2 separate regions of the Homo sapiens genome follow, and region 2 is linked to region 1. Evidence: promoter capture Hi-C in human tissues and cell types (Jung and others, 2019). All regions are on one chromosome and are shown on one strand. The core of a region is centred on a gene start or on the middle of the fragment in contact, and the rest is flanking DNA. Distances in the headings are between cores, read along the strand shown.

What was found. Contacts are between HindIII fragments. The study calls those that stand out against the background at their distance.
Region 2: a contact is called between a fragment that was not itself captured here and the fragment with the promoter of ACOXL in region 1, in 1 of the 25 tissues and cell types used here (H1 embryonic stem cells).

The regions. Positions count from the first base shown.
Region 1 is chr2:110,729,351-110,735,982 of GRCh38, reverse strand. It overlaps ACOXL (acyl-CoA oxidase like), which reads right to left and starts at 3,410. Exons shown (of 18, transcript NM_001142807.4): 1 at 3,209-3,410. It overlaps LOC124906064 (a long non-coding RNA gene), which reads left to right and starts at 3,558. Exons shown (of 3, transcript XR_007087181.1): 1 at 3,558-3,629; 2 at 4,079-4,147; 3 at 4,348-4,622. The HindIII fragment of the contact is 4,333 bases long and covers 591-4,923 here.
Region 2 is chr2:110,765,579-110,772,210 of GRCh38, reverse strand. ACOXL (acyl-CoA oxidase like) reads right to left here. Exons shown (of 18, transcript NM_001142807.4): 2 at 3,747-3,843. The coding sequence starts at 3,821. Among named protein-coding and RNA genes, the nearest start is that of ACOXL, 36 kb to the right of the region's middle. RefSeq lists an enhancer at 1-82. The HindIII fragment of the contact is 7,624 bases long and covers 453-6,632 here.

The DNA.
Region 1 (6,632 bases), core at 2,161-4,660:
GAGAAGGCCCTGAGAGAACAGAATCCTATGGGGGGGCTTTCTCAGTTCTCCGGGTGAGAGGTGTGTGCTGTACCTACCTCTGCCAGCCAGCCTCTCCTGAGAGAGCTTCCCTTCACCAATAAACAAACTCAGAAAAATCTCAAAAGCTTATCTCATTTCAGATGTTGCTTTTTAACATTCCCTGCAAATCCCAATGAGGAGCCGCCAGTCACCCAGAATGCTCCTGCTGTCACAACAAACAGCACACCTGGTCAGATGCACAATAGGACAGGGGCGGGCACAGCAGCCAGGATGCTCCCGGAGTCTGAGGACTTAGCCCAGCAGGCTCATCCTTGGGAGAGAGAAAGTCACTCCTTAGAAGAGGAACCTGGGCTGTGCCTACATTGCCCCTGGGAGCCGATGGCCAGCACCCTGGGAATGAACTCCTCCTCTGAGGAGAGTGGCCACCCAGTGTGTGTAGGAAGTTGCACAACCTCTTTTGGAGGAAAACTGTTTCCTGAGCTCTTATGCCCTGGGATTGCCTGGCCCTGTACAAACTTCTCACTATGTACACACAGCACTCACCACTACGCTGCCACAACCCTCTCCCCTACACCTACTTTAACTGCAAAGACCTGTTTGGGGTAAGGTGGGGACAAGCCACAGGAGATCTGGCATTGCCTCAGAGAGGAGGAAGTTTTATTTCTCATCTCCTAATGTTCTATAACATTTTACATTAGGAGAATGTTAAAACATCCAGAAATCAAGATCGCCATCTTCTAACATGGGCTAAGGTAAAATCTGATAGTACAATATGAACTTTCAAATAGATAGATATCAGAATCTTTAACCATTTGGGGAAAAAATATGAAATGTTGTTCATGCCATTACTACAACTCTGAACTATAAAGTAAATAAACAAGAACTGGAAAGAATGGAAAAGTGTTTGTCAGGGTAATGGGATTTTTGCTTTTCCCTTTGCGTGCAAGTGTGTTTTGGTATCCCACCACAACCAGTGTTTACTCCATGCCCACGCAACAGTTTTTCATTCAAGCTTCATAACACAGCAGCATTGATATTATCTGCATTCTGTAGATGAACAAATGTAAGTCAATAAGGGGGAAAAAAAAATCCAGGACAATGGTCACACAGGAAATAAACTGCCACACTGGACCCCTTATCCAGGCATGCCTTTCCTCTGTCCCTATGGAATTCACAAGGAAGTCCCTTCTGCTTGCCTCAAATCAGTAGTTTGGTTATTACAATTTTGTTCCGTCTTTTAAACTGCAGTTATCTAAACTGAAAGACAAAGAGGTGATAGCCCAGGAACAAACTGAAAAGACTGAGGAATATAGGAGGGGATGTGTGTCTAATCAGATGCGACTGAACTCAGTATGACTTAAAGCAGCCGTTCACAAACATTGATTTTAGGAACTCTTTGCACTGTTAAGAATTATGAGGTCCCAGCACTTTGGGAGACCGAGGCAGGCGGATCGCTTGAGGTCAGAAGTTCAAGACCAGCCTGGCCAACACGGTGAAACCCCATCTCTACTAAAAATACAAAAAATTAGCCAGGCGTGGTGGTGGGTGCCTGTAATCTCAGCTACTCCGGAGGCTGAGACAGGAGAATCGCTTGAACCCAGGAGGTGGAGGTTGCAGTGAGCTGAGATCACACCACAGCACTCCAGCCTGGACAACAGAGTCAGACTCCGTCTCAAAAAAAAAAAATTATGAGGTCCCCAAAGAGCTTTTATTTGGGTGGGTTATATCCACTGATATTTCCCGTATTAGAAATTAAAACAGAAAAGTTTTCAAATGTTTATTAATTCATTTGAAAATAACTAATAAATCTATTAGTGTATTTTATGAAAATAACTATTTTCCAAAACAAAAAAAGTTAGCAAGAAGAGTAGCATCGTTCTATATTTTTACAAATCCCTTTACTGTCTGTCTTAATAGAAAGCAGCTGTATTCTCATGTCTGCTTCTATATTTTTTCTGCTGGAATACTACACATCATGTGGTCTCTGGAAACTGCCACTGTACATTAGTGAGAGAATGAGAGTGAAAAAGCTAATAACTTTTTTTGTATTACTATAAAAACAGTTTGTACTCATGAACCGCCTGAAATGCTCTTGGGTCCCCCCAGGGCTCCCTGTACCACACTTTGAGAACCATAACTTAAAGAACTATGTATGAGAGAGAGGGAAAGAGAAGTCGGCGAGACACTGATGGATATACCCACCATCCCACACTTCTCACTTTTCAACTTTCAAACGCCCCCAACTCCCCACTAGGTAACCTCAGTGCAGGAACCCCAGATTCTCCAAGGACAGCCTGACGTTCACTCAAGCCATCTCCTTCCCTCTCATTTCCGCAAAATAAATTAAACGAGGGCTAAGTGGGCATGGCTAACCAATTAATCCTCCACGGGCACATACTGACATTTTTAATAGGGCCTTTCTTAAGCTAGAACTCCAAAGCATGCCTCCAACTGGGCTTTTCAGACTGCTTGAAATGGGTATGAGAAAGAGAGCCCACAGGAGACACGAATGCCGAGTTCTGGTCCTGACTGTCCGGTGACTGAACCATCTCTCTATCTCCAGTGCAGCTCAAGCACTCAACCCTCTGCCTGCTTCTCAGGGCTGTCCTGGCATCGGATGACATCGAGGACCTGAGTTCTTCTTATAACCAAACCGCCCCGCTGAAGCTGCCCATTCCGCACACCTGCACTCCGAGGGGGTCCTGTAAGCCTGTCCCACCCCGACGCCCAGACACGCCCTGGACAGGGCCACTCCATCCCTGTGCGCCCATCCCATCGCGGTTTTCTGTCCCCTTCTCCCCACCAAGGGTGGGACATCGCGGGGCGGGGACTCAAGAAACAGGTTCAACAAACCAGCAAGGCCGATCTTCCAGCCACACGGTCTTCGTAGACACCGCGCCTGTCACCGCGGGGCCCAGCCCTGCACCCGACTCTTCGTGGGGGAGGGAGCTCGGGAGGAGAGGGCACCTCTCAGGGGGCCGAAGAGGTCGGCGGCGGCCGGCTGCGCCCACACACCTGGGGAGGGGAGCCCGTCACCTGCGGCGAGGCAGGGACCCGCCTCTCAGGCGCGGCGCACACCCCACCTCGCCCTCGCCAGGGCGTTGTCCGCAGCGACGCTCCGGGGACCGAGGGGACACGCTCGGCGGCTTCGGGGGCGCGGGCAGGGGCGACGGCCGCAGCGCGGTACCTTTGCCGGAAGAGCGGGCGCCGCCGAGGAGTCCGCGCAGCTCGTTCTTGAGGCTCCAGAAGTCGCCGTCCAGGTAGCGGTGCAGGGAGGAGTCCCCGAGCCCCAGACCCGGCGCCGGCTGCATCGCGCTCACCTGCCTCTGCTTCTCCGCGTGGCTGGCAGGGCCGGCTTCGCTCCGCGCCTCCTCCAGCTCCCAGCAGGTGAGGCCCCAGGCGCACGCCCTCTCCCTCTCCACCCCTCCCGGCCCGTCTCCTCCCTCCTCACCTTCCTCTCCCCTCCCTCCCCGGCCCCGCCCTGCCCTGGCTTCCCGGGCGGGAGGTCCGGCGCGAGCGGGCGCTTCTACGGTGGCCTCCCCTTGCCCTTCCGAGGAAGCGAAAACTCTACCCTCCAGTTATCAACTGTCCCTCAAGATTTGTGAGCCGTAAGAAACAAGTACTAGACCCCTAGAAAGGGTGCCAGTCACGTGGACCTGGGCACCAGAGGCCCGGCTGCTCAGGACTGACCGGCTGACCCACTCAGCAGATCTCCCGGCCAGCCACTTTGCCTGACCCCCACGACCCAAGATAGCCTGGCTCCAGCTCTGGCCCCTCCTCAGCTGTATCTCACCTCTTCCCCGCACTGGGCATTACTGTGAACTCTAATATCACGGTAATCTAAAGGCGTCCCAGGTCTACAGCACTGCAGTCCAGGGTAGCTGGAAGCTGCATTCATGACGAGGTGATCGACCGGAACACGATACTCATTTCCCAGGACACTCCTTTTTTTGTTGTGGCTGGAGGAAAATGAGTTATAACCTAAGTGGAAAATGTTCCTTCCTTTCTGCTCCCTAATTCTCATATACCTTGTTGATTCTCCTTTTAAATACTCAAGGAAATGTTAGCCGTTCCCTTCCAGAGGCTACTTTGCTGGGGAGATGATGGTGTGGTCTGCTGTCGTGAGGTTAGTGGATGCCATCTGTATTCGTTTCCAGTAACAAATTCCCACAAAGTGAGTGGCTTAAGATAGCACCAATTTATTCTCTTACATTTCTGGAAGTCAGAAGTCCAAAATAGGACTTACAGGGTTAAAATCAAGGTGTTGGCAGAGCTGGGTTCCTTCTCACAGCTCCAGGGAAAAATGCATTTCCTTGTCTTTACTAGCTCCTAGAGGCTGCCTGCATTTCTTAGCTCCTGGCCCCTTCGTCTGTCTTCAAAATGCATCACTTCAAGCTCTGCTTTCATCGTTCCATCTTCTACTGACTTTGACCTTCTTGCCTCCCTTGGACTTGTTTACATGGGACCCATGGGAATAATCCATGGTCAATGGGAATAATCTTCCCACCACAAGATCCATACTTTAATCACACCAGCAATGTCCATTTTGCCATATCAGAAACACACTCTCCGGTACTAGGGATTAAAACATGAGCACCTTTGGCGAGTCATTCCTCTGTCTACCACACCTGTGCAGCTGCGAGTAATAATACCCAGTCATCCATGATAAAAGGGGCTTTGTTTTCTCACATCACAGGAAGCTTGGTGGTAGGAAAGCCCCAGGGGTGAATTTGATGGCTCTACCCTGGGGACCCAGGTCCTTTGCATCTTTCTGCTCCACCATCCGCCATCCTTTCTCTATATGTAATCGTTACCTTTTTTTTTTTAACTTGTCTTCTACCAGTTGTAAGATGGATGCTGCAGCTCCAAGCACCACCCTGTGCAAAGCAGAAGAGGAGTATTTCCTTCTATATCAGCCAAAATAGTGTAGTGGTAACAAACAACCCCGAAACGACTTCACATACACTTCCTCAAATCTTAGGGCCTAAAAAGACAAGAGTTTATTTCTCACTCATGCTACCTGGGGGTTCTGTTCCATGTCCCCTCGGTCCAGGTCCTGGCTGACAGAACAGCCATGATTGTGTGGCCACACTGGCTTTTAAAGCTTCCAGCTGGAAGAGACACACATAACTTCTACTCACAATCCACTGGACAAAGCAGCTCACTCCTGTCTCGATGGGGGAAGGGAGGTACCACCCTGGACATGCCCAGGAGGTCAACACCCAAAATCATCTGTAAGCAGAGCTAGTGACTATTCAATCTGCCCTTCTGGTCACACTCTCCCTTCCACAGGCAAAATATACTCTCCATCCTTCCAGGGAAGCAGCCAAAGCCCCACACCTCCACAACATCAAGTCTGAGGCCCCTGGGGGATACAGAGTGGTCCTTGCATCAAGTCAGGATGTGGCTCCTCTTGATCCGGAGACCTATAAACTGAAAAGATAGGTTACTAAGTTAACTTCCAAGTGAGTGTTTGCTTGAGTGAGAAAAAAGAAAGGCCTCTGTTCTTAGAAGCCACTAAGATTTTTGTTGTTGTTGTTGTTGTTTCTTGACGTGGAGTTTTGCTCTTGTTGCCCAGGCTGGAGTGCAATGGCATGATCTTGGCTCACTGCAACCTCTGCCTCCTGGGTTCAAGCGATTCTCCTGTCTCAGCCTCCTGAGTAGCTGGGATTACAGGTGCCCGCCACCAAGCCTGGCAATTTTTTGTATTTTTAGTGGAGACACGGTTTCACCATGTTGGCCAGGCTGGTCTCAAACTCCTGACCTCAGGTGATTGTGATCCACCCACCTCGACCTCCCGAAGTGCTGGGTTTACAGGCATGAGCCACCGCACCCGGCCAACCACTAAGATTTTTTTTGAGGGTCATTTGTTACGTAGCCAATCATAGAAGATACTAAAAGAATGTTGCTGATTAAATAAAAAACTAAAATAGGTACATTGGCTTAGAGGCTGGGAGGGGCAAGGAGGATGCTGTCGACCAAAGCATTGTTGTTGACCAAAATTGAAAATGGTCCCTTTTATGAAGAGGCAAATATTTGACAAAGTTGCCACTGACAGGAGACAGACCTAACTTGGAACTTATCACTCCAAGAGAAGTTGCTGAAAACACAAGGTTAGTATTGCATGTTGGCTGCTTTTGCTTGTGTTTGGCAAGACATTATAAGAAAGAGATGGGCTTACAAAAGAATTAACCAGTTTGCAAGCAGGGATGGAAGGGAATAGAGTCCACAAGTTCAGGGACTTTTAGGGTTGGGAGAGGCAACTGCTTCACGACTTCTATTAGTAAAAGATGAAACTGAGAAATATTTAGTAACAAAAGCCCATTAAAATTCAGGAAACTCAGACTCTACTCCCTTGCCCCTTGTGGCAAGAATAGAATCAAGAGTCTCACTTGAAACCTGTAACAAATAGGTTTTGTGGATTCCCAGTAAGCCATCTTACTCCCGGGCCTTGTCCATCTGAGCAACCCCCATCTGAAGCATCACTGGTCTCTGCGTCAGAGGATGAGAGCACGGTTTGGATCACCCACGGACTTGTAAATGTACACCCAGAAGTGTCAAGCGTAATCTAGCCTGTCCTGGAAGATACCTCAAGAATCTGTTTACAAGCC
Region 2 (6,632 bases), core at 3,015-5,514, 35 kb before region 1:
TTGAATCCCTGGTTCACTAGTCATTTATATATACAACTCACTAATTGTATAACTAACCTCAGGCCAATTACTCAGCTTCAGTTTACTTATCTGTAAAATGGGAATGCCATGAGGGATGTTGTGAATACTGAATGACATCATCTATTTAAAGTTCTTAGTGTTGGGACTGTACCAGAACATGTACTCAGTCAACTTGAGCTGTCACTGTCTGCTATGGTGAAGATCAGTGCAGGCTGTCAGACTCTGTCAGCTTCCAGGGATGAGCATCTCTGAGGAAGCTGTCCCCCATGCAGGACAAGACACTGCCACAAAGTAGATGATAAGACCTGGGTCTTAGAGACAGAAGGTCTCTGCATCTGGAAATAGAGGCAGTTGGTGACTCCCCCAGCCCAGGATCCAATTCTGGAAACTTCAGGGGAACAAGAGAGCTCTTGGCTGAGGTGCACAAAGGTGATGTCACTAGAAACAGGTGCAGGAGAAGTTGGCACAGAGAACAATGATGGTGTTCACACTGTGTGTGTGTCTGTGTGTGTGTGCGTGCACACTCTGCAATCAGACTCATATTGTTTTTTCGCTTTAAAATTATTGAAACATCTCAAATCTATTACAGATGGCAGAGGGGAAAACACAGCGTGGAAATATTTTAATGGTTTATTCTTGGCCTGCGGACTGTCCATAGAGACCTGGAGTGAATGAGACTCCCTTCTTATTTGTCCCCTAGAACATCATCATTACACATTATACACCGCGTTCTGCCTCAGAGCTCATCGGATCATCCACAAAAGTGGAGAGCAACATGAAAGGGGGGTCCAGGGAAACACAGACGGGCCTGGCATGCTCCCTGAGCAGGCAGGACAGCCATGACTCAATCATTTTATTAAGAGGCAGGATGAATCATGTAACACTTCTAGAATTACTGGATGTGGACAGCTCCTCCAGCTGTTTACAGGGCGGAATTTGAGAGCCTTCAAACACAGATGTGCTGCCGAGTCTCATGACATCCGCCCAGCGAGATGAGCCTGCCGCACTGATGGCCAGTTTCATTTCCTTCAGGTTTATTGGCTTTTGTGAATTCATACAGAGAGAGGTGCCAAACAGGCCGAGATAATTCACAGAAATGACTGGAGGGATGGTCTAGGGCCAATCCTGTGCCTCCTGGAGGAATTATATCTAATCACCCAGGACAGAGAGTTGTCCAGGCTGCCTAAGGCCACTAAGTGAGCCAGGAAAACAGGAAGATAATTGGATCCAGAGCTCAACACGCTTCATCAGGAGCGAGATTACAGAGGCTAATCCTTCAGACTCAGCGGGTCGGGCTGCAATTAGCAAGCCTCATTAAGGGATCAGCTCTCACATCCGGGTCTTGAGTATTGACACTAAGTTAAGCCACAGACATGTTGGGCTGATTAAGGGAGCAAGAAGCTGGCCACAGGCCAAGATTTCACCTTCCAACCAGCCCCATGCCGAACGCACTTGGAGGCGACTCTGACAGAGAGAGTGGTTGGCAGCAAAGAGGTTGGTTGTTTTTGTGTTTTTTTTCTTTTTTGGTTGTATTCACAGCTCTAAATGGATGCTCCATCAAGAGGCAATTTCCTAGCTTGAAAATCTCTGCCAAACTACTTGGTATGAAATGATTTTTTACGCTTCGCAAGCACGCTCCACTTTGTCACATGGGAGTTTTCCTGTGCCAAGTGAACATCCATCTGCACGTTCTCCAGCTCAGCTGACACTGCAGCGCCCTTGTCAGCGTGGAGGTGCCTGCAGTATCGCAGCGCAGGTGGTGCCAAGGCTCTGCCTGTAATTCCTTCCTGAGAAGACTCCAGGATTGGTCCTTGTCTCCTTAGACAACCTACCAAAGGTTGGTGGGATTGTGGGGAAGGGAGAGGGATCTACTTTCAAGCATGGATCCCAGGCCCCCACTAGCTCCATTCTACGCTCCACAAAGAAAGGCGCCCCTGTGGTCTCCTGAACTGGGAGGACTCCATCCCTCAGTCCTCAGACTCTCCCTCCCAGACCATGCTGGGTGGGGAAAGGGCTGGGCTGCTGCAGGATAGGGTCGGCTCCTCAGCATGCCGCTGAGCTGCAGCTACCCTAGTTCAGGCTCCTCCCTTAGGGGGTCTCAGAGGGCGGGTGGTGTTGGGTTTTTTGTTTGTTTGTTTGTTCATTTTGAGACAGGGTCTCACTCCGGTTGCCCAGGCTGGAGTGCGGTGGTGCGATCATAGCTCACTGCAGCCTCGACCTCTGGAGCCTCAAACGATCCTCCCACCTCAGCGTCCCAAGTAGCTGGTACTACAGGTGTGGGCCACCATGCCTGGCTAGTATTTGTTTAGTGTTTTGGGGTTTTTGGGGTTTTTTATTTTATTTTATTTTATTTTTTGAGACAGAGTCTCGCTTTGTTGCCCAGGCTGGAGTGCAGTGGCGCAATCTCAGCTCACCGCAACCTCCGCCTCCTGGTTCAAGGGATTCTCGTGCCTCAGCCTCCCAAGTAGCTGGGACTACAGGCGTGCACCACCACACCTGGCTAATTTTTGTTTTGTTTTGTTTTGTTTTGTTTTGTTTTAGTAGAAACAGTGTTTCACCATGTTGCCCAGGCCATGTTTCGCCATGTTGAGGCCAGGCTGGTCTCAAACTCCTGGCCTCAAGTGATCCACCTGCTTCCCTCCCAAAGTGCTAGGATTACAGGCATGAGCCACTGTGCCTGGCCAGTTTTGTATTTTTTTTTTTGTGGAGACAGGGTTTCACCATGTTGCCCAGGCCAGTCTTGAACTCCTGGGCTCTACCCAGTATCAGCCCACCTTGGCCTCCCAAAGTACTGGGATTACAGATGTGAGCCACCACACCCTGCTGAGGTATATTTTTTCCTATATACCATGAAGCTGAATGAACTTGGCTAAAATACATCACTCCTAATACTGACACAAAGGAACTCACTAATCATGTATTTTTTTCTTTCTTTCTTTCTTTCTTTCTTTCTTTCTTTCTTTTTTCATGAGGCTAAATTGACTAAAATAATACCACTAAATTTAGAATGACAGTTTTTAGACAAATAAGACATAAACTTTGGATAAGTCTAAAGTACTTTAAAAGCCCTTAAAATGAGTTATTTCTATTTCCCAGCTATTTAACTTTATCCCTAAAATTATATGGGTTTTGTGTACAAATATTTTATTACTTCTGCTGATACTCCTATTCCCTCGCCTGTGAGATTGGAGAAGTGAATGTGTGGGCCGAGGAAAGGGTTTGTTAGGTTAGTGGGAGTGGGGCAGAAAAGGGGCCTGAGGAAGACACTCTCCTCCACCGAGACCTGTCTGTCAGCTGCCCTCAGCATGAGATCAACAGGCTTAGCAAGTCACAAAAGCAAACAAAACAAAATCTCTAAGCAAATTAACATAGGAACAGAAAACCAAATACCGCACGTTCTTACTTATAAGTGAGAGCTAAACACTGAGTACACGCAGACACAAAGAAGAAATCAATAGGCGCGGCGGCCTACTTGAGAGAGGAGGGTGGGAGAAGGGTGAGGGTCAAAAAACTACCTATCGTGAGTTCAGTGCCCACTACTGGGGTGAGGAAATACTCTGTACATCAAACCTCCATAACACGCAATTTACCCATGTAACAAACCTGCACATATACCCTCTAAACATAAAATAAAAGCTGGAGAGAAAAAAACTCTCTCTCTCTCTCTCTCTCTCTCACACACACACACACACACACAACCATACCAGAATAATAATGACACTTACCAGATCCTGACCTGCACGTTTTAACAGAGGCAGGTCCATGGCAAACTTCACTCTCTGAACTGTCAAAGCTCTCATTTCATCCAAGCTTAAATCATACCTGTGAAGAACAGATACAAAATAAGACAGCCAATAATTGGTGACTGAGGGGAGGCTGTGGATGCTTTGACCCCGGGCTCAGACAGAAAAGCTGTGTCCATTGTAATGCTTGTTTGATACTGTGCACACTGTGTGTGTCACACAGACTGGGTGTTCAATACAGCCAGACACAGGGAGGGAGAGATGGAAGGATTTCCTGACAAGACCATCTTATTCTTCTTATTAATATTATTATTTGAGATGGTGTCTCACTCTGTTGCCTAGGCTGGCGTGCAGCAGTGCAATCTCGGCTCACTGCAACCTCCGCCTCCCGGGTTCAAGCGATTCTCCTGCCTCAGCCTCCCAAGTAGCTGGGACTACAGGTGCCCACCACCATGCCCAGCTAATTTGTGTGTGTGTGTGTGTGTGTGTGTGTGTGTGTGTGTGTGTGTGTGTGTGTGTGTGTTTAGTAGAGACAGGGTTTCGCCATATTGGCCAGGCTGGCCTCAAACTCCTGACCTTGTGATCCACCCGCCTTGGCCTCCCAAAGTGCTGGGATTACAGGCGTGAGCCACCGCGCCCGGCCAAGACCATCTTAAAACAAGACTGCAACACCTCCTGCTCTGCAGTCCTTTGAAAATTGTCTGAGATGACTTAAAAGCAGCATTTGGGAGATAGGGGCAAGGGAGTGACATGCGTGTTGCAAGAGGTGGACTGTGGTGGCCATAAGGATTGCCACTCAGGGTTGCCTTCGAGATTACCTGCTTCCAGCTGCCACACCTTTGGAATAACAGAGTGATGGTAATTACATTCACCATGAGGCTGCTCATCTCTTGGCTGCTACTAGCTGATGGTTGAGCCTCACAAGGTTCTAGAGTCAGGCCATGCCTGCCCAAGAGGTGACCTGCTCTGGGAGCCCACTTGCCTGCAGACTTTGTCATCACTGTACTGTGTCTGAGGCTTTCCCAGCTCAACCCTTTCCTCCCCCTCTCTTTGCAAGGAAGCCAGACCTGACTGCCTTTGTTCTGAGGGTTCTCCCCACCAATCCAGCTCCCTCCCACTTACGCTTCTCAGGTGTTTTCTCCCATTAAATCTCCTGCACATCTAGCCCCACCTTGGTGCCCACTTCTCAATGAACCTAAACTGACACAGGAGGAGAGGTTCCTCTTTGGCCACCTAGAATGTTTCCATGCAACGCACAGCCTGAGCCTGTAGGACCTCACTCAGGTTAGATTTCAGAGCCAGAGGATATGAAAAGGATGGCCTAACAATAGAAAACCTTCTTGGAGATACCCACCCAACAACAGAAAAACATCAGAGCAAAACACACCCATCTTCCTCTCCTGCAGTCTCAGTGGGGCATTGCTCTTCCTCTCTACCCCATAACCCTGCAAAAGCAGGAGGGGGCACTCCAATTCCTTTCTGCAAGGCTGAGGGGAGAGTTAACCTTCCACCTCTTGTCTTGCAGAGCAGATGGAGTGTCTGAGTTCCCGACCTGGTGCACACCTTGGTGGGCCAAGTAGGGAGCTGATCTTCTATCTCCTGCCCAGCAAAAGCAGGTGGTGCCAGGGTAGCATTAGTGGAGTCCAGTAGTGGCCATCTATACCCAGCAACAACAAGGCCTAGCAAGAAGATGCGAGGTAAATCTAGTCACACCCTGCTTCACACCAACACCCCATCAGCAGGACCCAATGGGAAGCTGAGACTTCACCCCTACTCGGTATTAACAAGGAAAAAGGAGGTGGTAGGAGAGAGGGTCAGTTGGCACTTAATTCACCCCTCTCCTTCCCTGGCGTCATTAGCACCCAGAAGAGAACTGACCTTCCATCCCATACCGGTGACAACAAAGTGATGTGGGTCAGCTTTCAACTTCCCCCTTCCTGATGGCAGCTCAGCCCAGTGGGGAGGGGATGATCTCACATCCCCATCTGAAGGCAACTGAGGTCATGAGATTCAAGAGGGGAGCTGAACTTCCACTCCATACATTTTCAACAAAGTTGGCTCAACAGGAAGCTGAATATACATGGCCACCTGGACATCCCAATATACCTCAACAAGGGACCCCATGCTAAAAAATATTCAATCAATCTTGAGCAACATAATAAAATATCCAAAATGTCTAGGACACAATAAAAAATTGCTCATGATACCAAGAACTGTCAGAACACATACAAAGAATTTACTAAGAATCATCACAGCAACAAGGAACATCACAACATGAATGATAAAGAAATCAACAGATACCCACACCAAGATTAATCAGACATTGGAATTATCTGATGAAGATTTTAAAGCAACCATCATAACCATGCTTCAATAAGTAATCATAATTTCTCTTGAAATAAATGGGGAAAAAAACAGAAAATTGTATCAAAGAAGTGCAAGTTATAGAAAAGAATAAAATGGAACTCATAGAACTGAAAAATATGATAACCAAATTTTTTAAATCTCACTAGATGAACTCAAGAATACAGCATAGATGAAATAATAGAATCAGTGAACTTGATGACAGATTGCTATGGTCTAAATGTTTGTATGTCCTCCAAAATGTATATGTTGGATCCTAATCACCAAGGTGATTATATTAGAAAGTAGGGGCTCTGGGAGATGATTAAGTCATGAGCAGTTCACCCTCATGAATGAGATTTATGCCCTTACAAAAGAGGTCCCAGAGACCTGCCTTGCTCCTTCCAGTATGTTAGAACATAGCAAGAAGGCACCATCTATGAACCAGAAAGCAAGACCCTCACCAGACACCAAATCTTCTGGCACCTTGATCTTGGACTTCCCAGCCTCCAGAATATGAAAAAT